Regions from separate parts of the Homo sapiens genome. Here region 1 is linked to region 2. Evidence: promoter capture Hi-C in human tissues and cell types (Jung and others, 2019). All regions are on one chromosome and are shown on one strand. The core of a region is centred on a gene start or on the middle of the fragment in contact, and the rest is flanking DNA. Distances in the headings are between cores, read along the strand shown.

Region 1 (4,725 bases), core at 2,221-4,720, 780 kb before region 2:
AATTTTTGTATTTTTAATTGCGATGGGGTTTCACCACCTTGGCCAGGCTTGTCTCGAACTCCTGACCTCAAGTTATCTACCTGCCTCAGCCTCCTGAAGTATTGGGATTTCAGGCATCAGCCACTGTGCCTGGCCTATTACTTTTTTTATTTACATATTTTTAAATTATATATTTAGTTTTAAAAATAGATGTGAGGATATTAAACTTTTTTATTTTTTCCAGAGTCAGTTTTGGTATGTTGTGTCTCAAGGAATTTGTCCTTATCATTTCAGCTATCACTGCTCTCTACAACCTCCGCCTCCTGAATAAAAGCGATTCTCCTGCCTCAGCCTCCTGAGTAGCTGGGATTACAGGTGCCTGCCACCATGCTCGGCTAATTTTTGTATTTTTAGTGGAGATGCGGTTTCACTGTACTGGCCAGGCTGGTCTCAAACTCCTGACCTCAGGCGATCCACCCGCCTTGGCCTCCCAAAATGCTGGGATTACAGGCGTGAGCCACCGCACCTGGCCTGAAATTTTTATTTTACATATTATACTTTTCATGTCTAGAAATTCTATTTTCTTTTTTTTTGAGACGGAATGTCACTCTGTCGCCCTGGCTGGAGTGCAGTGGCGTGACCTCGGTTCACTGCAAGCTCTGCCTCCTGGGTTCACCCCATTCTCCTGCCTCAGCCTCCTGAGTAGCTGGGACTACAGGTGCCCGCCACCATGCCTGGCTAATTTTTTTTTTGTATTTTTAGTAGAGAAGGGGTTTCACCGTGTTAGCCAGGATGGTCTCGATCTCCTGACCTCGTGATCCATCCGCCTCGGCCTCCCAAAGTGCTGGGATTACAGGCGTGAGCCACTGTGCTCGGCCTCTATTTTCTTTTTATACCTTACATTTCTCTTCTTACTGTGACATGTTTTCATTTAAATACTTGAGTATAGTTGTAACACCTGTCTTACTGTTCTTGTCTACTAGTTATATCGTCTGGTTTTTCTTATTGTTATTGGTTACATTTTCCTGCTTCTTGACATATGTTGAAATTTTTAAATTAAATTTTATGTTTTTGAGACTGAGTTTTGCTCTTGTTGCCTAGGCTGGAGTGCAATGGCGCGATCTCGGCTCACCGCAACCCCCGCCTCCTGGGTTCAAGTGATTCTCCTACCTCAGCCTCCCAAGTAGCTGGGATTACAGGCATGCACCACCACACCCGGCTAATTTTTGTATTCTTAGTAGAGACGGGGTTTCTCCATGTTGGTCAGGCTAGTCTCGAACTCGTGACCTCAGGTGATCCGCCCGCCTCAGCCTCCCAAAGTGCTGGGATTACAGGCGTGAGCTACCGTGCCTGGCCATGTGTTGAAATTTTTTATTGGATGCTGGATATTGTGAGTTCAGTATTGTTGAGGTTATGGATTTTGTGGTCTTTAAAGAGTGCTTAAAGCTTTTTTCTTCTGTGCAGTTTTTTATGGTTTACTGTTATCATTTTGAGTCCTGTTTTTTAGCTTTGTTAGAGTGGATCTGGATAATCTTTAATCTAGGGATCATTTGACCTCTGGTCTCTCCTGAATGCCCTGTGAGGACACTCCAGTCTGGCTGCTTGGGACTCATGATTCCCCTGAGAGTTCTAAGAAATGTCAGCTCCTAGCTTCTTCTTCACTGTGGAGTTTCACCCTATGCATGCACAAATTTTAGTATTCAGCAGAGACCTGAGGGAACCTCCAGACAGATTTCTGGACCACTTTTTCTGCATAGCTCTTTCTTTCTGAAGTCTGTCCTGCAGCTTTCAGCTGCCTTGGCCTCCCTGAACTCTGATCTCTGTCTCTTCAACTTAAGTGGGTGGCGTGCTCTGCTGGGGATCCCCGTCTCTCTCCAGGGCCTGAAATGTGTCTCCTGGCAGGAAGCCAGAGTGATTTTAGGGCCCAAGTAATTTGTTTCTCTGCTTTCAGGGATCGTAGTCCTGCACTGCCTGCTGTCCAATGTGTACACACAGTGGTTTTATTTATTTGGCTTAGTTTTCTAGTTGTTTACAGTGGGAGGGCAAATCTGTTCCCTATCACTCCATCATGACCCGAAGTGGAAGTGCATTGGTTGACTTTGAGCAGAGGAGTGACATGAAATAACTTATCATCTCCTCTAATCCCAAATGTGAGGTGGTGGTATTATTCCCGTTATTCCCATAGATGAGGAAACTGAGGCTCAGAGAGGTTGAGCAGCGTGCCCCCAAATCACTGAGTTCTTAATGCCAAAGCTTGTGTACTTTCTGTCATGCCACTGCATCTCAAAGGATATTGGTGGGATCGAATCTTATTCTTCCCAGCAGAGAACTACACAGACTGGCTTAGGACCTATCTGGAGTCACAGTCACCGGGCAGATGCAGGATGGGTTCTCCTATCTGAAGTCGCAGTTACTGGGCAGATGCAGGATGGGTTCTCCTAGACCTGGAGCTTTCGCCAGTTGCTCAAATCTGTGAGCTGCTTGTGAGGTTGTTCTTTGTTGGACAGCAGGTCAGGATCTGGGAACGCCTTCCAGTTGGGGAAGGTCAGCGCCTTGGCAGCAGGAGTGAGAGCACCTTTGTCTCTACCAAAAGAAAAGCATTTCTCTCTCTGCCGCCGTAGTCTTTGCCTGACTTGTTTTTTTAAAGCAGTTTTCTGCTTTTGCTTTCTTCTCTTCCTGCTCTCCCCATTCAGGCCTCTAAGGATCCTGGGCATGGATTGCCTTAGGTCCTTTTCTTACATCGTTACAATAGATGCCTGTGGGTGGTTTCTAAGCCTTTTTTTTTTTTTTTTTTTCTGAGACAGTCTTACTCTGTTACCCAGGCTGGAGTGCAGTGATGTGATCACAGCTCACCACAGCCTCAACCTCCTGGGCTCAGTTGATCCTCCCACTTCAACCTCCTGGGTAGTTGGGACTTACAGGCATGTGCCACCATGCGTGGCAAATTTTTGTATTTTTTAGTAGAGACAGGGTTTTACCATGTTGCTCAGGCTGGTCTCGAACTCCTGGGCCCAAGCGATCCTCCCACATCGGCCTCCCAAAGTGCTGGTGTGAACCACCATGCCCGGCCTTGTTTTTTTTTTTTTTTTAATCATGGACTACTCTGTGAAGATTTCCAGGATCAGTTGGAGATGAGGTTTTGCTATGTTGGCCAGGCTGGTCTTGAACTCCTGACCAGGTGATCTGCCTGCCTCGACCTCCCAAAATGCTGGGATTACAGGCGTGAGCTACTGTGCCCGGCCTGCTTCGATTGTTTAAACAGCTAGCATGGTGGAAGATTTTAAAAAAATGTTCACAGGGTAGGCCATGATTAAAAAAATAAAAAAAAGGCCAGGTGTGGTGGCTCACATTTGTATTCCCAGCTTCATACTGGGACTGTGGCTCTGGGAAGCCATGACTTGAGGAATTTGGAGTGTTGCTGTTTCAAATTCCATGGTAGGAATATGCATACACATGCACCCTTTTTTTCTTTTTGAGACAGAGTCTTGCTCTGTTGACCAAGCTGGAATACAATGGCACCATCATAGCTCACTGCAATCTCTGCCTCCTGGGATCAAGCGAGCCTCCTGAGTAGCTGGGACTATAGGATGCACCACCACACCCGGCTAATTTTTAAATTTTTTGTAGAGATGGGGTCTCGCTGTGTTGCCCAGGCTGGTCTCAAACTCCTGGCCTTAAGGGATCCTCCCATTGTACCCTCCCAGAGTGCTGTGCTGGGTTTAAGGTGTAAGCCACACTTGGCCATGCTCCTTTTTTTTTTTTTTTTTTTTTTTGGAGACAGAGTCTCACTCTGTCACCTAGATTGGAGTGCAGTGGCATGATCTCAGCTCACTGTAACCTCCGCCTCCCGGGTTCAAGCGATTATTGTGCCTCTGCCTCCCGAGTAGCTGGGACTACAGGCATGCACCACCACACCCAGCTTATTTTTGCATTTTTTTTGTAGAGACGGGGTTTCGCCATGTTGGCCAGGCTCATCTCTAACTCCCGGCCTCAAGTGATTCGCTCACCTTGGCCTCCTGAAGTGCTGGGATTACAGGCATGAGCCACTGCACCCGGCCGGCCATGCTTCTTATATGCTTTGAATATCCTTGGCAGAATATATAAGGAACCAGCGTCAGTGTGGGTCCCCTAGGGTTGGAATGAGAGGGAAGCTTTCTTTTTTACTTTTAATATTGAATTTTCTAAAACAATTCATTTACATGGCTTATAATTTAAAAGGTACTAAAGGGTTTATGATGAAAGAGACTTATTTGGCACTGTGTACTGTTTGAAGTTTTTCCCTCTGGTAAATACTAGCTATTCAAGGGATGAACTAATTTTAAGAGCAGTTCCTTGGTGGAAACAATTCATAGTGATTAGTTTTATTTTAGGAAGAAAGTTTTGGGTTAAGTCAGAATGGGGCTTCCTAAATACTAAAGCTGTTTGCTTTTGTGTGTTTTGTCTGGTCAAATAACCTACATTATTATTTATGGGGTAGCATTAAGGTTGTTGCTTAATAAAATGTGGTTTAAACAAAACTTGCTTATTTTGATTAAGTAGAAGGGTTCAAATCCCTGTAGTACCAGTTACTATCTGAGTAATCATGGGCAAGTTATTTAACCTCTTTTGCCTCAGTTTCCTCATCAGCAGTAATTTGATATACTTATTGTGAGAATTAAAGGAGGAAAGAGCTAAGTGAATGTTAGCACTTAGTATCTAGCAAATGGAGTAGAGGAAACCCTCAGGAAGATAATGAACGGAAGAATC
Region 2 (4,491 bases), core at 770-3,269:
CTTTTTAATTTTTTAGAGCGGAGATCTCACTTTGTTGCCCAGGCTGGTCTCTAACCTGAGCTCAAGAGATCCTCCCGCCGGGTGCGGTGGCTCACACCTGTAATCCCAGTACTTTGGGAGGCTGAGGCAGGCGGATCACGAGGTCAGGAGATAGAGACCATCCTGGCTGACACGGTAAAACCTTGTCTCTACTAAAAATACAAAATAATTAGCCGGGCGTGGTGGCGGGCGCCTGTAGTCACAGCTACTCGGGAGGCTGAGGCAGGAGAATGGTGTGAACCCTGGAGGCGGAGCTTGCAGTGAGCCGAGATTGTGTCACTGCACCCCAGCCTGGGCAACAGAGCAAGACTCCGTCTCAAAAAAACCTCCTGAGTAGCTGGGACTACAGGCACACATTATCACCCCCAGCTCCACCTCTTTAGTTTGCACTGGGTACCACAAATTATGTAGTCAGTCCTGTGTGCATCTATGTTGCATGTGTATTATAATTTCACTGATGTAAATGATGTGTAGCATACAGTTTACAAATACTAAAATATACAGTACAGGACTCTATTGTAAACTCCATATAGCCAGTTCTCACAGTATGCTTTCTTTGATGTTGTGTAGCTTCCCTATGGTCCCAATTGATCAATGAGCATAGTTCAGACATGAATGTTGGTTGATATTTTATGTTAGGAGTAAGAGGAAAGTGAAACAATCAAAAGAGATATGTCAGAACTTCACTAGTTTGTCAAGGCTACAAGCGACTTATTTGTTCAACTGGATAATAATTTGCCAATGCTGAACGAATATTTCCTCAAAGTTTTGGTGCATTCACTTACACACTTTTTTTCTCTCTTTTTTTTCTTTTTTGAGACGGAGTCTCGCTCTACTGCCCAGGCTGGAGTGCAGTGGCGTGATCTTGGCTCACTGCAGCCTCTGCCTCCAGGGTTCAAGCAATTCTCCTGCCTCAGCCTCCCGAGTAGCTGTGATTACAGGAATGCACCACCACCCCCGGCTAATTTTTTTTTTTTTTTTGAGATGGAGTCTCACTCTGTTGCCCAGGCTGGAGCCCATTGGCATGATCTTGGCTCACTGCAACCTCCATCTCCCGGGTTCAAGCAATTCTCCTGCCCCAGCCTCCCGAGTAGCTGGGATTACAGGTGCCTGCCACCACGCACGGCTAATTTTTGTATTTTTAGTAGAGACAGGGTTTCGCTATGTTGGCCAGGCTGATGTCGAACTCCTGACATCAAGTGATCCGCCTGCCTCGGCCTTCCAAAGTGCTGGGATTACAGGCGTGAGCCACCGCACCCTCCAACACTTTTAAGTTTAACCAGTAATATGAACATTTTCTCCGCCACTTTCTTAAGTCTAGACGACTTAGCAGTTATTAAGCATTTGCTGATTTGCGTGGTGTAAATTCTCCCACCATGGGCAGATTTCAAGCTGCTGAAGGATGTCACTGAATGAAAAGCTGATAAGAGGTGAGCAGTAGCACATCATAGAGTATTTCCACGGTGCAGATATGATAGACGTCAGAATGTATGCACACAGCAGGCGCTCAATAAATGCTTGTAGCATGAATAAATTAATGAATCCTACTTCGTGAATGAAAGTGCGCCCGGTAAGTCCTAAAGCAACACGCCTTCGAGTTCTTATGATGCTAAGAGAGGCTGATTGCAGTTAGTCTGGAAGTAGCTGCGGGGCGCAGTGCAGGCAGGAAAAGGGCTGGATGCCGGGTCACCGCCCGGCCCCAGCTCCTGGCCCGTCCCCGCTCCCGGTCCATTCCCGCCCCGGCCCCGCCCCCTCCCGCCCCACCACCGGTCTGGCCCCGCCCCTCAGCCCCGCCCCACCCCTCACCGCCCTTCTCCCCGCCTCTGACCCCGCCCCTCCTCTGACTCGGCCCTGCCCGCCCCGCCTCTGACCAGGCCCCCGCCCCCCACCCCTCACCGCCCTTCTCCCCGCCTCTGGCTCGGCCCCGCCCCCTCCCGCCCTCCAGCCCACCCTCCGGTCCAGCCCGCGCCGCCGGCACCTGTTTCCGGGCGGGCCTCCAGAGGCCGGCGCACAAGATGGCGGCTCTGGCGGCCTAAAGAAGGCGGCCGCGGCTCAGCCGTGGGCTCTAACGCGGGGCTGGGGGCCGGAGACAGACTTCGCCCAGGTGACGGGTAGTAGGGGCGGCGCCGCTTGGCCTCGTGGGGTGTAAGACCCACTTGCTGTTGCCCCCGGACCTTGCCGCCACACCAGCCCTGTCCTGGGGCGGAACCGAAGGAAGGTCGGGCCCTGCTGCCCCGCCCCGTCCTTCCTCCTTCCCGGGCGGTCACTGTGCGTGGCTCACTTTTAGAGTTTACTTCAACCACGTGGAGCTTCCATGGCGGCCTCTCAGGTCCTGGGGGAGAAGATTAACATCCTGTCGGGAGAGACTGTCAAAGCTGGGGACAGGGACCCGCTGGGGAACGACTGTCCCGAGCAAGATAGGCTCCCCCAGCGCTCCTGGAGGCAGAAGTGTGCCTCCTACGTGTTGGCCCTGAGGCCCTGGAGCTTCAGTGCCTCACTCACACCGGTGGCCCTGGGCAGTGCCCTTGCCTACAGATCCCACGGTGTCCTGGATCCCAGGCTCTTGGTGGGTTGTGCCGTGGCTGTCCTGGCTGTGCACGGGGCCGGTAATTTGGTCAACACTTACTATGACTTTTCCAAGGGCATTGACCACAAAAAGAGTGATGACAGGACACTTGTGGACCGAATCTTGGAGCCGCAGGATGTCGTCCGGTTCGGAGTCTTCCTCTACACGTTGGGCTGCGTCTGTGCCGCTTGCCTCTACTACCTGTCCCCTCTGAAACTGGAGCACTTGGCTCTTATCTACTTTGGAGGCCTGTCTGGCTCCTTTCTCTACACAGGAGGTAAGATTTGGCCTGTCCTGTGTGCTGCAGGTCTTAGTCGCGTCCACTGGAAACCGCTGCTTTGTAAAGGAGTTATAGGGATGTCAAAGGTGGCTTTCTAATTTAAGCCGCTTTAATTGAAGTCTATAATTGTGGGTGATGTGAATTTTTTGAAACAGTGATTTGAGAAGATCCTGGTTTGACTTACGGACGTAGGGCATGACTGAAAATTTTATATGGACATTTATTTTTATTTATTTTTTATGTATTCATTTTTGAGACGGAGTCTCGCTCTGTCGCCCAGGCTGGAGTGCAGTGGTGCGATCTCGGCCCACTGCAGCCTCTGCCTCCCGTGTTCAAGCGATTCTCCTGCCTCAGCCTCCCGAGTAGCTGGGACTACAGGTGCACGCCACCACGCCTGGCTGATTTTTGTATTTTTATTAGAGACGGGGTGTCACCATGTTGGCCAGGATGGTCTCGATTTCCTGACCTCGTGATCCACCCGCCTCAGCCTCCCAAAGTTCTAAGATTACAGGCGTGAGCCACCGCGCCCTGTCAGGACATTTTTTAATTTTTTTTATTTTTTTTGAGACAGAGTCTCGCTCTGTTGCCCAGGCAAGGGTGCAGTGGCACCATCTCGGCTTACTGCAACCTCTGTCTCCCGGCTTCAAGCGATTCTTCTGCCTCAGCTCCCCGAGTAGCTGGGACTACAGGCATGTGCCACCACGCCTGGCTAATTTTTGTATTTTTAGTAGAGACAAGGTTTCACCATGTTGGCCAGGCTGGTCTTGAACTCCTGACCTCATGACCTGCCTGTCTTGCCCTCCCAAAGTGCTGGGATTACAGGCGTGAGCCACCATGCCCGGCCTATATGGACATTTTTTCTGTCTCATTTTTTTTTTTAATCACTCATACTTTATAATGCCACAGTTTCAAATATTAGAATTAAATCTGAAGAGTTCAAAATGATATAGATAATTACTTCTAGCTAGTTTGCTAGGTGACTTCTTGCAAGAGGCTGATTAAGGTAGTGATGGGCAGGTGGGTAAGCCCTATTTATTGAGCACCTATTATGTGCCAGGCACTGTTCTGTGTGAACACAGCAGTCACAGATCCCTGCCCTTGTGAAACTTACGTATTATCATGAAAAGAGACAGAAAGTAAAAATAGAAAATTATAGTTAGGGTGACCAATATCCTGGTTTGCTCAGGACTAAGGTGACAGGACTAAGTCGGATGTGCGACTTCTGGAGCTAAAACCAGAAAAGTTCCTGGTAAGTCAGGTTGAATTGATCACCCTGATTATAGTATATGAAAGATGATAAGTGCTATGGGAAAAAAAAGTAGAGCAAAGAATGGGACACAGATTACTATTTTAAGTAGTTTGATCAGGGTAGGCTTCATCAAAAAGGTAACATTTGGCTGAGTGCAGTGGCTCATGTCTGTAATCCCAGCCCTTTGGGAGGCTGAAGCGAGAGGATCGCTTGAGGCCAGGAGTTAAACACCAGCCTGGGCAACATAGACCCCTGTCTGTATAAAATATAAAATAAAAAATATTAGCTGGGCATGGTGGTGCTTGCCTGTGGTCCCAGCTACTTTGGAGGCTGAGGCGGGAGAATTGCTTGAGCCCA

What was found. The method cuts DNA at HindIII sites, captures the fragments that hold promoters and counts their contacts. A contact is called where the count stands out against the background at its distance.
Region 1: a fragment that was not itself captured here is called in contact with the fragment with the promoter of UBIAD1 in region 2 in 1 of the 25 tissues and cell types used here (psoas muscle).

What each region holds. Positions count from the first base shown.
Region 1 is chr1:10,487,946-10,492,670 of GRCh38, forward strand. All of the region lies in intron 1 of PEX14 (peroxisomal biogenesis factor 14), which reads left to right. Among named protein-coding and RNA genes, the nearest start is that of PEX14, 15 kb to the left of the region's middle. The HindIII fragment of the contact is 3,285 bases long and covers 1,829-4,725 here.
Region 2 is chr1:11,271,179-11,275,669 of GRCh38, forward strand. It overlaps UBIAD1 (UbiA prenyltransferase domain containing 1), which reads left to right and starts at 2,020. Exons shown (of 2, transcript NM_013319.3): 1 at 2,020-2,882. The coding sequence starts at 2,354. RefSeq lists silencers at 1,599-1,868, 1,929-1,978 and enhancers at 1,979-2,148, 2,239-2,288. The HindIII fragment of the contact is 12,769 bases long and covers 1-4,491 here.